Linked DNA regions of Homo sapiens: region 2 is linked to region 1. The links are contacts of gene promoters, found by promoter capture Hi-C in blood cells and fetal thymus (Javierre and others, 2016). All regions are on one chromosome and are shown on one strand. The core of a region is centred on a gene start or on the middle of the fragment in contact, and the rest is flanking DNA. Distances in the headings are between cores, read along the strand shown. Region 1 holds the start of FATE1 (fetal and adult testis expressed 1). Region 2 overlaps GABRQ (gamma-aminobutyric acid type A receptor subunit theta).

What was found. The method cuts DNA at HindIII sites, captures the fragments that hold promoters and counts their contacts. A CHiCAGO score of 5 or more calls a contact.
Region 2: a contact is called between a fragment that was not itself captured here and the fragment with the promoter of FATE1 in region 1, in 2 of 17 cell types (M2 macrophages and endothelial precursors). The highest score is 5.9, in M2 macrophages.

Annotation. Positions count from the first base shown.
Region 1 is chrX:151,713,885-151,717,530 of GRCh38, forward strand. It overlaps FATE1 (fetal and adult testis expressed 1), which reads left to right and starts at 2,151. Exons shown (of 5, transcript NM_033085.3): 1 at 2,151-2,341; 2 at 3,388-3,515. The coding sequence starts at 2,236. The HindIII fragment of the contact is 6,237 bases long and covers 1-3,646 here.
Region 2 is chrX:152,653,179-152,657,177 of GRCh38, forward strand. GABRQ (gamma-aminobutyric acid type A receptor subunit theta) reads left to right here. Exons shown (of 9, transcript NM_018558.4): 9 at 1-3,999. The coding sequence ends at 103. All of the region lies in intron 2 of MAGEA3-DT (MAGEA3 divergent transcript), which reads right to left. Among named protein-coding and RNA genes, the nearest start is that of GABRQ, 17 kb to the left of the region's middle. The HindIII fragment of the contact is 8,561 bases long and covers 1-3,999 here.

The DNA of each region.
Region 1 (3,646 bases), core at 901-3,400:
TGTCCTTGGCACTCAATCCAAGAAAGGAAGGCATGCTAAGGGGGTGAGATGCTGGGGTTTTTGAGTGGCATTGGGGGTTCAGGGATTGGGAAGGAATTCTCCCACCCTCTTTGCTTGGCTTTAGGTGGTGGATTCCTATGCCACCAGGGGGCAGTGCCTCCACATGCACCTGGACCCTGTGCTCCTGTGCCCAAGAAGCCCCACCAGGGCCAGTTGATAGCGAGACAGAAATCTGGCCTCCATAGCCCGAGGCCCTGTGGCAAGCCAGTGCCCACACTGCTCTAGCTTTGCTGACTTCTGAGTGCTCCTCACAATCCAGCCACCCTGTAGGGAGGCTTGTCCATGGGGGAGACTGACACCAAAAGAAGCGAGAAACTTGCCCAAGGTAAAATCTTGAAGTCATAGTGAGATAAGATTGTCAGATGGAATACAGGATATGCAGCTAAATTTCAATGTCAAATCAATCCATGAATCATTCTTTAGTGTAAATATGTCCCAAAAGTTAGTGTACGAGAGAATACTTATACTGTTGTTTATCTGAAATTTAAATGTACTTCGTACCTATATTTTCATTTGCTCAATCTGGCTGGGCTTCCCAGGCTCCTGAATCCCACTGAGCTGAGCACACTCAGCAGTTTCTCTGCTCCCAAGGTGGCCCTCCAGAAAGCTCGAATTTCATCACAGCTGCTCCACTGGATCTGGGAAGGGCTTCTTTGGGGCCCCCAGGAATGCAGGCAGGGCCTATATCAGCTCTGGTTCCCAAGCTGGACAGGTGAGGTGGGGGCAGGGGGCAGGCAGCCTCAGACCATGCCGCCCTATCTCAGCTACTCCTGGCCCCTTCGTTTCCACTTTCTCTCCCTTCCTTCCTTCCTTCCTTCCTTCCTTCCTTCCTTCCTTCCTTCCTTCCTCCCTTCCTTCTTCTTTTCCTCCTTCCTTCCTCCTCTTCCTCCCACCTGGCCCAGGGGCTCTGGGGGAAGAAGAGGCTATTTGTAAAAGGAACCTTATATAAACCTGTCCTGATTCCTTTTACAAATAGCCTCCTATTCCCCCAGGGGCTCTGGGGTTGTTTCCTAGAATGAAGGGTTCACCACAGGTAGTTGTAGCAATCAGGGTTTTCCAGAGAAACAGAACTGATAGGATGTATATATGTATGTATGTATGTATGTATGTATGTATGTATGTATGCATGTATGTATGTATATATCTGCATATGCACAAGTATATAGAAATTTATTTTAAGAAATTGGCTTATGCGATTGTGGGGCTGACAAGTCTGAAATGTGCAAGGCAGCCCTGCAGGCTGGCAACTCAAGGAAGAGTTGACATTGCAGTCCTGGGGTAGAATTACCTCTACTTTGGGAAACCTCAGTCTTTGCTCTTCAGGCCTCTCAGCTGATTGTGTGAGGCCCACTCACATCATCGAGGATGGGTCTCTACTTTATTTCAAGTCCACTGGTTGTAGATGCCAACCACAGCTACAAAATGCCTCCACAGCAACACCTAGACTAGGGTTTGATGGAGTCACTGGGGACTAGAACCTGGCCAGGTGACACATAAACCTGACCATCACAGTGGTCTAATCAGTAGGGAAGCTGAGGGAGAACTGGGACTTAGAAGGTGCAGGGCCTGAGGCCCCTGGGGGTTCTAGTGGCTGCAGTCAGGTCCCACCTCTCTTGCCCTTCTCTCCCTTTGTTATGGCTCCTGCCTAGGCTGACCTACTTCAGGAAAAGGCTACCTCCCGTGTCTGGGGACTCTGGATGGGGGAGGTAGGATACGCTCTCCAGAGAATCCCTTCTGAAGGTGTGGTATGGCCTGGATTGCTAGCACCTAACTCTGTTGTGGCCACTGTTGGCTCTCGGACCCTGTGCCAATCCCTGTTTCTTCATAGAAATGATGGAGGGTGGACCCCACCCTTCTCCCCATGGGCTAAATATGGAGATTCATGAGCCAGAGCAGTTCTCACAGGCAAAGGCACGGAATTGTATCTCTTCTCCTAAGTTGCTTACAGAGTAGCAGAGGAGAAGGCCACTGACCTAGCCAGCAAGATACAATAGAAACAGAAAGTACTGTGTCCAAGGCCTCAGCCTAGAGAGGGAGTCTCACTCCACCCCCAGATCTGACTATATCTTCCTTGAGCTCCTGTTTCCGGAAGAGGTGATTTTCTGAGTGTGACTCCTCTGTTCCTGGCACCCTGTGCATCCTTAGCCATAGCTTACAAGAGAACAGCTGGTTGTGATGGCAGGAGGCCCTCCCAACACCAAGGCGGAGATGGAAATGTCCCTGGCAGAAGAACTGAATCATGGACGCCAAGGGGAAAACCAAGAGCACCTGGTGATAGCAGGTGAGGATCCCCTAAAATACCCCTAGGCTACAGCCAACTGTGTAGATACGTGTCTATACCTGTGCATGTGTGTGTTGGAAAAGGTGCATGTGTGCACGGAAGTGTTTGCACATCTGTGTGTTGGCCGGGCTTCGAGGATTTGTGGGTTGATGTAAGGGAGCTAGGGGAAAAGGGATAGATGATGTGAGCATTTTTCCCTGGGAGGGAGGAGGATGGGAACAACATGTGTAGTACCTCTGTCTCCCCCTTATCCAAGCCACCACAGTCTCTGTTGCAAAATACTCAGAGGGCTCAAATTATGAGACCAGAGATCAATTCTCTCTCCCAATCCTCCAATTCATTTTCCTGCCATTTGGAGGAAAATCCAAATTCCATGATCTATAAGATTGTATCAGCCTCCTCAAAACGTTTCATGCTATGATATAGACAGAAAATACCATTTCTATAGCACACAAAGGGATCCAGATCACATTGCATTTATGTTTGTTCTTACGATGCTCCAAGCCTGCTTCTTCCCCCAAAGACCTTGCATTTGCTGTTTCCTCTGCCTGGAATGCTCTTTCCCTCAATTTCCCAGGGCTGGGTCCTTTTTTTCCTTCAGGTCCCCACCTCAATTGCTGTCTCCTACTTTTCTAGGAGGAGCCCTTTCCTTCCACTATGTTACCCTGTTTTGATCATTTATGGAGCCTGCATCTCTCTGTCTGCATTTGCAAGGATAGATTGCTTTCTGTTTTACACCTGTCATTCCCCCTTATACACAAACAGATGGTCAGTTCCTTGATAGCTGGAATCTTGTTCTTGGTCATTGGTCTCTAGGTTACTGGAGAGTAACCTAGTCTCGAGCTCAGCCCTCAGGAAATTCCGGTTTAACTTTTGAACAGATGAACAAACTGAGACCTGGGATCAGCTGATGGACAGTGGTTAATGGGTGCTGAGTGATTCCCAAGAAAGCTGGAGACTCTGTCTTCTTTTTGGTGTGTTTTGTGCCCAAGAAACCCTGGTGCAACTTCTATGGGTGCTCCTGGAGCTTCTGTTCTTCTCTCTAGAAATGATGGAGCTTGGATCTCGGTCCCGGGGTGCCTCCCAGAAGAAGCAGAAGTTGGAACAAAAAGCTGCTGGCTCTGCTTCAGCCAAACGAGTTTGGAATATGACTGCCACCCGACCCAAGAAAATGGTACTGTATGGGGTCCTCAGCACTTGGTGGCCAGGTTGGGGTTGGGAGTACTGGTTGTAGGGGCTCTAGCCTGACCAGGTCAGGCAGGGCTAGACGTTGACTTGTGAGGAGGAGGAAGCTCCTGTGCTCCA
Region 2 (3,999 bases), core at 1,037-3,536, 940 kb after region 1:
TAATCCTGACTACGTCCCAAAGGTCGACAAGTGGTCCCGGTTCCTCTTCCCTCTGGCCTTTGGGTTGTTCAACATTGTTTACTGGGTATACCATATGTATTAGTCCCCCAGTGCTCCAGAACAGCGGGAGCACTGTGCTGTGCTCCTTTCAGTTTCTTTTGGGTTTGTTTTTCCCTCTTTCCTTTGTTCCTTTTATTTTGTGGTTATTTGGGCAATCCAATAAGTTCATACTTCTCTTTATAAACATGAGGTGGGGAGTAATTGGAAAGAACATGTTCTAGCTGGAAGGGAAGGGATTGAGGAGGAGTTGGAGGTATACAGCACATGGATTTCCTTTCCTGCTAGAAGACTCTCACCTTTTCAAAGACTTGTAACAAGGAATAAGCATAGAAAAGCCCCTGGAAATGTTTAGAGGACAGAGAAGAGCCAGGTTGGGGGATGGGGCAAGGATCTGGGCCTTTTGCCCACAAACATTTCTGGGGGGCTTTTCTGTCCCCCTTGAGGTGTCAACATTTCTTTTTCATTACATGTTTTCTTCTTTTTTTGTTTCCTCCTAGGGATTATGGGTCTTGTTCACCCTCTGCTTAGGGCTTTATAGAAGAAAGTCAAGCTGGGTTGGGCTGGGGTTCATAGCTAAAGGGCTAGCCATGGCTTAGAAGTTCAGGGAACTTCCTATAGGAAACTTAGGGAGCATTTGTAAGTGCCTTTCCCCCACTGTATGGCATTTGACTGTGGTGTTTTGATGCAAGCGTGGAAGGGGAATGTGGGTGGATGGGGCTGCAGAGTGAGACATCAGGGTGAGAGAGCACATACTCAGCTTGTGGGGTTGGCAGAGGGTGGGGGGTGATGTCAGGTTGGAAATTACACAGTTGAGCTGGCCTCTTCGGAGGGATTGGAACTTGCCTATATTTCTGCTTCAGAACGCTTGGCAATAGAGACTCAATACATCTGTCTAAGTCAGGAGTTAGCTTTCCGTCAGTTGCTGAGTTGATCACCAGTTACAGCACTTGGTGAATAAGCACTAAGGTTAGGATAATTCACACTTGCTATTTTACCATCTGATCTAGACTAGCAGATGAATATCTATCGTAAGTCTATATACTAATCCTTTCTATTTGTCTAGTGCATAGTAAGTGTCAACAAGCTCCCTGACCCATTACATCACTGGAGCCTCACAGGAGCCCTGTAAGCCAGGGAAGGCAAAGCACATTGTCCCCAGTGTTCCAAGGAAAACGAATGGAGCTTATGCCGCATGCTTGAGGACATGCAGCCAGTGAGTGGTAGATCCACCCCACTTGCTCTTTCTTGTCTTTTTCCTCCTGACTGTCCCAACTGAGGCATTTCCTTTTCTTCCCTCCCTAAAGAGGGTGCTCCAGAGGGCCCCCACCACATCCTCTAGCACCTGGGGCATCTCTGCAGGAATAGGCTGGTGACCAGCCAATGAGCGTGACGTGAGCAGATGGAGAACACACTCTGCCCACTGAGCAGGGCCCCTAACGGAAGTAGGATTGGCCAGCATTCCAACTTGCCAAGCAGCTCCACCTCACTGATGGAGGTTGTGAGGGAGTGAACTTTGCCGAGCACTCAACATATGCCACCTCTTCCTCCCTATGCAGTCTCTCCCTCAGTCCCTTACCCCTCTACCCACTCACCCTTTAACTGTGCTTCTGTGTTTGTGTTTCTGTATATACCTGGGTGTATGCATATGCAGCAGGGTGGGTGTATGTACATATACAACCATTTGAGAAGCTGCATAGTGCCGTGTCTAGTGGTGTAAATCTACATTGGTGTGTACAGAATTGTATCTACAGCATGTGGATGCATGCGTGTGTGTGCACATCCCTGTGAAAGTGTGGCTTATGTATGTGTATGCTTGTGTACACATGGGTCTATGCTGAGTGCATGTATATAAGGGCATGTCTGCATATCTATGTTTATCTGATTTGAATGGGTGTGAAAGGAAATACCCCTGAAAGCATATGTATTCCCTGTTGGTGACCCTTCTAGAACCACTATAATTCCCTTGGCCTGCTCCCATATGGTGGAGGGGCCCTATTTGGCCGGGCTGCTTAACTGACTGTTTCTTTCCAACTTCCTGTTCCAGGGAGCAGCATCTCCCAGTTCCCTTCCACTGTTTGCCCTGTCCCTCCATCCATCTGTGCTGTCTCCTAGATAGAAGACTGGGGAAGTGAATGTAGTCCTAAGAAGTGGTGAGCTAGTGCCTTGAGGTAGGAAGTGGTTAATCCATGGAAGAAGCTGCAAGTACAGAGCATTTCACTTTGTCCTAGAGGAACATGTTTCGGGGTAACAGGCTGGGGAGTGAGGCTGAAAGAGGCATTGAGAATAGACACTTGTACAGTCACATACACATACACACACACAAATCTTGTACGACAGTTGAAAACAAGAAAGTTACCACTGGAAGAGCTAAAATTGCCTCTTTATTTTTGGATACCCCATACAGAGATTCAGGTGGAGGGGAGAGCAGTGACTCCATGTCTGAAGCTCCCAATGTGGCTATTGAAAGGCTGGCTTCCTGGAGCCTAAGCATTGGTTGGTTGACGTGGATTTGGGTCTCCAGCACCCTGGAGGTGCTTTCAACCCTGTGGTGGCAAGCAGTTCATTTGGGATAAAGTCATAAAGGGAGATTGGAGCAGTGTGAAGAAAAGGAGGGTTTTAAGATTTGTCTGGAAGCAATGCACATGAAGGCTTCACAGCACAGAGGAAGGGCAGCGAGGCCAGTTGTAAATATCTCTATAGATCCATATAGCTAGATATAATACTATACCTTAAAAAGGATATCTTGCCCTGACGTGCTGCAATGAGAGCAGTTGAACTCTACTGCGACTCATACTCTGTAGGTTAAGTGTCAAAATGAGGTGGAGATTTGGCAGTGACACCCTTTCGGGAACGTGAACCTTCTGAGTTTGCTATGGATTTGGTCATTTTAGCCTGCACGTTGCCAGATCTCCCCTTGTTGAGTCTTGTATGTGGTCTGTCCTCTGTGTCATTTGAGTCCTCAGCTGTCCCCAACCCCTTCCCAGCCCCTCCCCAGCCTGCAGTCACCCCCTGTCCAGCAAGCTGCCTCCATCCCATCCCTCTCCTCACCTCACACCAGGTAACTCTGGAAGTGCAGAATGCTTGGTAGTTTGGAGCTTGGGCAGCATCTGGGATGCAACAACCCCTATTTTACTCTTCTACCCACCTTCCATTTCTTTCCTTCCCATCGACTTCCCCGACCCAGGATCCCTTCTTTGCCACTATCATGGGAAGGACACCCCTGTCTGTCTTTCTGAAGTATCATTTTATTGTGGGGATGTGTGACACGTTTCCTACCAAGTTCTTGCCAGTTCCATCTGCCACTGTGGGGTGCCTTTGCACAGGTCATGGACGATCTGCTGGGTCTTACTAGAGCCTGTCAAATGTATTCTTACAATTCATGTCATCTTGTTAATAGCAGGACTTCAAAGTCTTTGCATATTTAGAGCTGAGTTTTGCTGAGACTGTGGCCATTCCTAATGAGGTTTCCTCATTCCATATATATAATAGCTAACCCTTAAAGCCATTAACTAATGAATGCATTTATTAAGCTATCCACTCGCATGGTACCCTGCTGTGGTGATGAGCAGTAACTTTCTAGCTATTCCATAGCCCAACATCAAAGGAAATCGTGACTCGTCCTACTAGAAGTGTAGTGTCTTTGTGTTTGTTGTGTAGTGTCCTGTGATCAATATAAAATCTATATTATCAGTGTTGGGTTTTCAGGGGAGGGAGGGAGAGGATGTTAAAGTCTCTCTTTGATAAACTTAAATTATGAAATAGCCCAGTTGTTCAGGGTCACTTCTATTGACTCAATTTGTGTGAGACTTTGCACTCACTATCTCGCCGGCCGGACTGCATGCCCAGGGTCAGTAGTCAGCAGAGCTAAAGGTGCCCGAATTTAGCACAGCTGGCTGTGGTGCCTGACATAGGGCAGTACCGGGGGATTCTTCAGAGGTC